2 separate regions of the Homo sapiens genome follow, and region 1 is linked to region 2. The links are contacts of gene promoters, found by promoter capture Hi-C in blood cells and fetal thymus (Javierre and others, 2016). All regions are on one chromosome and are shown on one strand. The core of a region is centred on a gene start or on the middle of the fragment in contact, and the rest is flanking DNA. Distances in the headings are between cores, read along the strand shown. Region 1 overlaps KRT82 (keratin 82). Region 2 holds the start of KRT71 (keratin 71).

The links. The method cuts DNA at HindIII sites, captures the fragments that hold promoters and counts their contacts. A CHiCAGO score of 5 or more calls a contact.
Region 1: a contact is called between a fragment that was not itself captured here and the fragment with the promoter of KRT71 in region 2, in 2 of 17 cell types (M1 macrophages and M2 macrophages). The highest score is 5.2, in M1 macrophages.

What each region holds. Positions count from the first base shown.
Region 1 is chr12:52,397,793-52,402,046 of GRCh38, forward strand. It overlaps KRT82 (keratin 82), which reads right to left. Exons shown (of 9, transcript NM_033033.4): 3 at 3,497-3,557; 4 at 2,735-2,830; 5 at 2,193-2,357. Among named protein-coding and RNA genes, the nearest start is that of KRT82, 6.4 kb to the right of the region's middle. The HindIII fragment of the contact is 2,325 bases long and covers 1,831-4,155 here.
Region 2 is chr12:52,550,845-52,554,767 of GRCh38, forward strand. It overlaps KRT71 (keratin 71), which reads right to left and starts at 2,301. Exons shown (of 9, transcript NM_033448.3): 1 at 1,793-2,301. The coding sequence starts at 2,233. The HindIII fragment of the contact is 3,012 bases long and covers 1-2,486 here.

The DNA.
Region 1 (4,254 bases), core at 1,743-4,242, 150 kb before region 2:
TGCCAGCATTTTGGAAGGCTGAGGCGGGCAGATCATTTGAGGTCAAGAGTTCAAGACCAGCCTGGCCAACATGGTGAAACCCCATCACTACTAAAAATACACAAATTAGCTGAGTATGGTGGTGCATGCTTATAATCCCAGCTACTTGGGAGGCTGAGGCAGGAGGATCACTTGAACCTGGGAGGCAGAGGTTGCAGTGAGGCGAGATTGCACCACTCACTGCACTCTAGCCTGGGCAATAGAGCAAGACTCCATCTCAAAATAAACAAACAAACAAAAAACAAAAATAACAGCAACAGAAAAAACCCAGAACCAAATAGAACACTGCTTTTATTTAGGGTAACAATGAGCCCAGATAAGAGAATATTTCTCAGTCTTCCAATCAATGAGATCTATGACCATGGCTGGGTAGGGCTTCTGGGTAAGCTCTTTAAAGGGGGGAATGACCCAGTTGGCTTTTTTTGCCTCTGTTCTCCTTGCTGCCAGGCGTAAGCATGTGAGATTGGAGGTGCTGCAGCTTTCTTGGAACATGAGGCAACCAAGAGGATGGAGCATGTATTACAGATGGCAGAATGGTGAACTCAAAGGATCCTGGGTCCCTGATGATGTCACAGAATCTCTGTGTCATCCTGGGCAGTCTATTTTGTACTTCAAGCTACTTTAGAAAAAAGTAAAAATTCAATTTTAACTTTTTTTTTTTTTTTTAGAATTTCTGATCCTGGTAGCCAAATGCAATCTTCAACTAATAGAATTTTCTCTAAGATTCTGACTTAGCAGGATGGGAAAATGAGGTGGTTGTAATCCTGAACCCAACATGGCTGATGGTTGTTGCCAGGGGCAACCAGAGGAAGGGCCAGCCAGAGTGAAACCTGGCCGTGGGTGGGTCACAGACAGGTTCACCAGGAGCTGACTCCATTTCAAGTTTTCATACTTCCAACCACCATGGAGCTCCAGAAAATGGGCAGAGCATCACTTTGGGCACTCCCTGGGCAGTGGCACCCACTGCCTTCAGAACAAAGCCAAATGACTTAGCACAGCCCTGCAGATGCTGTGACCTGGCCTCAAGCTACCCCTCCAGCCCGATCTCCACAGCACATGGCACTCCAGGCCCCTCAATTTCTGCTGCTGTGTCCTAGCACCTGCTGCTCAGCCTGGCACACCCTCCCCCCATCTCCCCTTTGAATCTTATTTGTCCTTCAAGATTAGATCAAATGACAACACCTTTGCCTTTGTGACACAATTTGTTCCCTCTGTCATCAAACTCCCTTTACCTGCTGCTCCACCTTTGCAATCACTTCCTGCTAGCTGGTGTTTTGGTTTGGGAAGCACATCCTTGCTGGCCACCCTAATTGAAACTGCACTCCAACACTCCCTACCCTTCCCCTGGTTTATTTGCTTCCTAGCACTTGGTATCACAGTCTAACATACATCCACTGCACTTATGTGCCTTGTTTATCATCCATCACCCTGCCCCTCCAACCCTACCCTGGAACCCAGCTTGTCTCTGGAATGAAAGCGACATGAAGGCAGGGACTAGTGTCTGTTCTGTTCCCTGCTGTGTCTCCAGCTTCTAGAACTGTGCTTGGCACGTGGTTGATGCTGAATACACAGTGTTGAATGAGTGGACCAATGAGTGCATGCATGCATGGCGCCTTTCACAGGCAGGGCAGGAGAGGCTGAGATGATGATATTTGTTAAATCTAATTACCCTTAGGGCCCCCCTGCCCTCCAAGCAAGCCCCTAATTATTAAGTCTGAGGCCATCTTAATCACTGTTTCTGCTCTACCATTAGTAGCCACCCCATGCCACTAGCCTCCTCCCACGCCTCGAAGCTTAGAGCCCTCTTTGCCATCATTACAGTTCAGTAAAACCAATTAGTGTTTACTGAACGCTGCCTACAGGAGCACTTCCAGTGAGTCTGCAGGTAAAAACTGCTGGGCGCCCTGGCACCCTGATGACAGGCCTGGATTGTCCGGGGCGGGGAGGGGTCCCTCCCACGTGCTCTGCAGGGAAGTGGCCTGGGGCCTGGCAGAAACAACAGCAGCTGGGCTTTATGGGATTCCCTGTGTCTGTGGCATGGCGTGGCTCTCATTAGCTCCTCACCCACTTCTGCGGAGAAGGAGTCTGGGGGTCCTCCCCTCCCCTGGTTTGTCACCTCTCCAGTCTCCCTGCCCCCAACCACAGGGCCTCACCCGGCACTGGTACCAGGCCTCTGCTTCGGCTTTGCTGCGGCTGGCGATGTCGTCATACTGCGCCTTGATCTCAGCGATGATGCCGTCCACGTCCAGCTCCCGGCTGTTGTCCATCTTCACAATGACCGAGGTCTCAGAGATCTGAGACTGGAGCAGGCAGATCTCCTGGGGGCAGGGCCCATGTGAGAAGGAGTGAGCTCTCTGAGCGTCCGGGGACAGGAGAAGGGGAGAACCCGTTCTGACCTTCCCAGAGCAGAGTGCATAGAACTCTGCTATGGCTGTTCTGGGCTTCAGTCACCAACTGACTCCTTGTCCCCACCCTCTGGTTGCCCAGAGCTTGGTGGAGACTTTCCCAGAGGGGCCTGTGAGCCATGGCCTGGATGATCCAACTTCTGTGAGTCTCACCGCCTGAGAACGTCTCTACAGTGCGGACCTCTTTCCATGCTTGCCCTGAAATGTACCCACTGGGCGGCCACTCTGCTGCCCTCTCGATCCCTTGGCTCCAGCCCTGACTAACCACCCAAGGTCAGGGCTGTGGGTACCTCCTCATACAGGCTTTTCAGGAAGTCGATCTCCTGCACGAGTGCCTCTGCGTTGGTCTCCAGGTCAGCCTTCATCAGGAAGGCTGTGTCCACGTCCTGCAGCAGAGCAGGGACAGAATGTGACCTGGCTGGGCCACCTCCCAGGCAAGCTGGTGGCAGGGGGAAGGCGTGGGGCTCACCTTTCCTCACGAACACCCATGGGCATCGAAGGGGTGATGGAGCCGAGGTGGGGAAAAAGGGGTCCCTAGCCCTGGGACCCCAGGCCTGGGCCTGGCTTCCTGATGGGAAAGGATCTGAAGGGGGTGGGGCTTAAATGAGCCTTAGCAGCAGCATCTCAGAGCCCACTTTGCAGAGCCTGGGCCTGGAAATACCTGGCTACCTGTCTGAGGAACCATCGCAATTGTATTTGGGGGCTTGCGGCAGAGCTTTTGAGCTTTTGTTTTGGTTTGGCGTTGGCATCTGTCCCATCTCCAGCTGCTCGGGCAGGGTTAGACATGACTTTAACCCAGCTTCGGCCTGCATGAGTGGGGAAGTGGAGGCCAGGCCAATGGCTGGCCTTTTGCAAGGGGACAAAGTTGGGGGAGAGGAGGCCGGCCTTCCTCATTCTCAGAGTTAGTGGGGCTGGCACAGGAGTCTGAGGGGCGAAAAACCCTTTTTCAGAGTGGGTGGGCTGCAGACACGTTTGGACTGAGTTCAGGGCTAGGTGGCCTGGGGCAACGCAGGCCAGCTCAGGGGCTCTGCCTCTCTGAGCTTCCTCCTTACCTTCTTCAAGGCAACAAACTCATTCTCAACACAGGGACGCAGGGAGAGCTCCTCTTCGTATCTGATGGAAAAGGCAGGAAAAAATGCTTTAGTCGGGCTTGTGGATTTTGGAAGAGATCTTGGCATCAGGCCTTTGGGGGCAACTCTGCCTGTCACTGACTGAATGCCCTGGGGAGTGCCCAGGTCCAGCCCTGTCTTGGCAACTCTAGCTCCTCCACCCACTTGAGATGGATGAGTAGCCACTTGTCAAGTTTACTCTTCTCCCCATTCCTCAGGAACCTTCTCCCGCGATGAGTCCTCCCTGGGAGATCCTCCTTAAGGCTACCTTCATTCTCTCTTGCTGCTGAGGAGGTTCACTTCACCTAGTGGCCTCCCTTGGGAACGTAGAAGAAGGCTGTGCTGCTGGCCTAGCTGTTTTTTTCTGAGTCACTGAAATTCCCGGCTGACCCTGTGCATCCTCCTCGCTGGGAGGGTTCAGAGCCTGGCCTCTACCTGTGGTCCATTTGCAGAGGTAGCAATTATCCATCTTACCAGACCCACAGAGACAGCCAGGCTATTTCCTCAGGCTCCTTGGGGCTCCTCAGCCCACTCACCACTCCCCTAAGGCAGAGGGAATTGGTCAGGGGGTTCAGTTTGATAAGCAGCATCAATTCATTAAAAGCTTCTCTGCTTCATCATGTCCATCTCTCTTTTTTTCCAGCAGAACTGCTGCAGCAACGGCCCTGGACTCTGGAGCCTAGCCCCCTGGGTTTGAATTC
Region 2 (3,923 bases), core at 1,051-3,550:
ACTGGCCAGAAGGAGATGTCCATACACACCTCTTGTTTGGTTTTTGGGGATGGGGAGCACAGTTTTTAAAATGTGACTTCCCTTAATCTACATGAGCACAGCTACTGCTTGAATAAGGTTGTCTTCCCCAACATCAGAAACACAAGACATGGGAAAACTATCTAAGATTCAGTGTCAAGATAGAATTATTCCCCGAAAATTTGTCTCTAGCCCGTCTTCCAGCATTTGGTCTGGTTTAACCAATCCTGAATTTTTCATGTGATCTACGAGGCTGAGCATTAACCACAGAGTAAATCCTGCATCTGAGACACCACAATACACACCTGCACTACTGAACACATCTGGATGCCGAAAGGATTTACCCGTCTTCTCTGGCTGCCTGAGGTTAAGGGACTGATCTCTGGAGACTGAAATTATTTGGGAACTGTCCAAGCCTTTCAGCCTCCTTCCCCTCCCTCTGGGCAGACCATCTTTATAAACAGGATGTGACCCTCCTCATGTTCATCTTTCTTCCCATGTCTCCAGACTTTATCCTTCTGTAGGTTTTGACCAGCCGAGCCAAGAATCAATCAGTCCACTCCCATCACCCAGACCCCATCTCAGAACACTTTGATCTTGCAGATATGAAAAGGCTTAGAAGAATAAGAAGCCGCAGAGCCAGTCCTAGCCCCTGAGGCTGAGCCGAGGGCAGCAGGGACTCCTCCAGGCAGGAAGTCTGAGCTGCAGGAGCTGGCTAAGCTCTGATGGCCACATGACCGTCTCACCCATAGACTTTGTCCTGGGTTGACCCGTCCTTGGTGCCTGACTGCCACAGAGCCAACAGAACCCTCCAGTCTCCTCCTCTGGGTCTGGAGGCAAAAGGCTGAGGGTCCAGCCTCACCCTTCCCTTTCCCCAAATGACCCTGGGAATGCCATTTACCTCCATGCCTTCAGTGACTCATACGATAGGGATAATCATTTCTTCTCTGCCAGAAGTCAGGGGCCTATCTGGACTGTGTCATCTCTTCAGGTCTCTAGACACCTTTGATTCCTCCCCTGAGCTTCCCTCCCCCACATTCCAGAGATAAGAAATGAGAGTCACAATCACAATCATTTTTGGAGTATTTAGTGTGCGTCAGGCTTGTGACAAGATCTTCACCTGCATTTTCTTTTATAAGCCTGACAACAACCCCAAGACAGAAGTTATTATCTCCATTTTAGAGATGAGGAGATGGCAACACAGACAGGCAGATCACCTTCCCAGAGCCACTCAGCTGTGGCCAGCAGTGAGCACAAGAGCACCGTGGAGTCCCCTTCCCCAGTGCCCTCTTCTGCCTCTCAAGAAAGTCTTCAACTGACTGGAGCAAATGCCCAATCAGAGGGCCTGAAGCGGCCCCTTCCTGCTGCTCCTGATCCGCTGGGCAAGTGACCAGTGGGCAGGGCAGCATGCCAGGGGAGGAGGACAGCTTCCCTGCTTACTCTGGGCGAGACTGGCTCTCACAGGCCTTTTCTGCACACGGCCTGCAGGCCTAGCAATGGCACCAAGCTAGCCCTCAAGAGGAAGGACCACATCTCTTGCTGGGAGCCCTGAGAAGCCTCTGCCAGTAGAAATTGACCTGCCTCTGTTTTCTCTCTGGAAAGACAACACAGAGAACCTTACACAGGTCACCCTGTTGATGGGATGTACCTACCTTGTCCACAGTAAAGTCTTCCTCACATCTAACCTCAATCTCTCCTGCTGTAACAAAATCGTATGTTCCAAGAAGAGAAGAGGAGGGCTGTTCACAAGTTCCCCAGGCCCTAGAAGACCCACCTTGTCGATGAAGGAGGCGAACTTGTTGTTCAGAGCCTTGATCTGCTCTCGCTCCTGGGCACGCACTTTCTGGATCTCGGGGTCCAGCTCCACGTTGAGGGGGGCCAGGAGGCTCTCATTGACGGTAACCTGGTGGATGCCTCCAGGTGGGCATACAGTTGGGCACACAGGCCCCAGGGCCACACTGCCAAACATGCTTCCAGCAAAGCCACTGGCCCGGCCCCGGCCAAATCCATAGCCTCCACTCTTCCCGCTGCCACTGGCCACATTGAGGCTCCGGACACCCCCCAGGCTGTAGAGGCTCCGGCTGCCAAAGCCCCCACTGAGCCCTTTGCTCCCTGCCCGGAAGGAGGATGAGCTGCCCCCTGAGAGCACAGCTGAGCAGCCACTGAAGCCCCCCTTGGCGGCAGCTCCCGACTTGCAGGTGAATTGGCGGCTCATGTTGCTGGTGGAGACAAAGCTCAGATGCAGGAGGGAGGAAGGCAAAATCCCAAAAGGTTCTGCTGGTTGTAGTGAGGACTGGCAGGTGCCTTTATATGTGCTTGGCACTGGGGCTTGTGGATGGGCAGTCAAGAGCTTAATTCGTGGGTTTGGCTTGCCTGGGAGCAAGAAGTCATTTTCTCTATGCTGAGCTAGAGATCAAGCCCTCTCCACCTCTGAAACAACATGAAACCTTCAAATTGCTGGGCTTGCAAGCTTTGCTCATGTAATTTGGGTCTTATCTAATTAACCTGCTGTTATAGGGTAATTTGCCCCAGGCCCTGGCCTCTCCAGGGGGATGTCACTGGCACTGCACCATCCCTATCCTGATTAATCTTCTCTGGGTTGTTGGCTTCCTCCTGGGGATGCAGCAGGTGAAGACAGGATGGACTTTCCTGGATAGTTCAGGACACTGGGTAGAGTACTGGGGCCTCCAACTTCTGTTCTCCTCCTTCCTGGAAAGGGACTGATCAGGCATTACCTCTCCCCAGGCCTCCTGGAAACATAACCCATAGAGGGCAGCTGCTCTCACTCATGGGGTATTAGGAGGTGGAGTGACCCTCTCGCTAGCATGGGACAGAAGCAGCCCAGGCCAGAGCCAACCACGGGCACTATCCTCACTTCTCCCCCCTCAAACACCCATAATAAAGCAGGCTGGAGGCTTCAAACACTGGAGAAAATGAGGACGAGAAAAGGAGGATGGAGTTGGGGCAGGTGGCTGAGAAATTCAGGGACTTGACTGGAAGGAGGTACAGAGAAGACAAAGACAGAGGCTGGCCCATGGCCTGGAGGGTTATGGAGATTCCTGGGTGGTCCACTTCCTCATTTCTGTCTCTCCTCCAATGTGTATCTGCTAATAAGACTAGGAACAACTTGAGGACAGTAATCATCTGTTTAGAGTTCAAATAAAGAAGCTGTTATCAACATGAAACTTAACTCCTATTGCCTCTGTCCAGGCCCAAGTGAGCCAAGAACAAGGCTGGCTGAGCCCTCCCCAGGAGTGCAAGCCTCCAGGCAGGCTCAGACCAGAAAGACCCAATGGGGGCGACCCAGTAAGCACGATGTCATTCTACTCCAAACAGTCCTTTGATGCCAGCCCCAGAGACTCTGGCTGCAGCCCCTGCTTCCTAGCCACTGGCTCCTGTGTTGGGCCCCAGCTACTCCCATGATCGCCATTGCCACTGTGGCCCTATTCAACCCAAGGCAGCTCTGTCCCTGAAGATCACCCTTGCCCAGAGATCCCTGCTGGAGCCCCATGGGTGAACAGCAGCTCTTTGCTGGGTGGGGCACAGGAGGGAAGAAAATCTGGAGACAGGCTGGTTTGGGGCTCTCTCTCATATTGTTTAGGGGAAGAGCCTGGACTCCAGTCCCTCCCAATCCTCTGCATTCCTTCCTCTACTCTTGCCCCTGCCATTTTGTCTTCTTTGCTCTTACTGAAACTACCCGAATTTTCCTATCCCTGCCTTCTCTCTTTCTCACCTTCTCTCTCCATCCCTCCTCATCCCTCCCATCCATCTTCCCTCCATCCTTCCCTCTCAGCCTTTCGCCATCTCTTGTTCTGTCACTTCCCCATCCTGCTCTCCTCCAGGAGGTCTTCCTGCACCCACACAGGCCAGGTCTGAGCTCTCCTTACCTCCCTCCGCTCTGAACA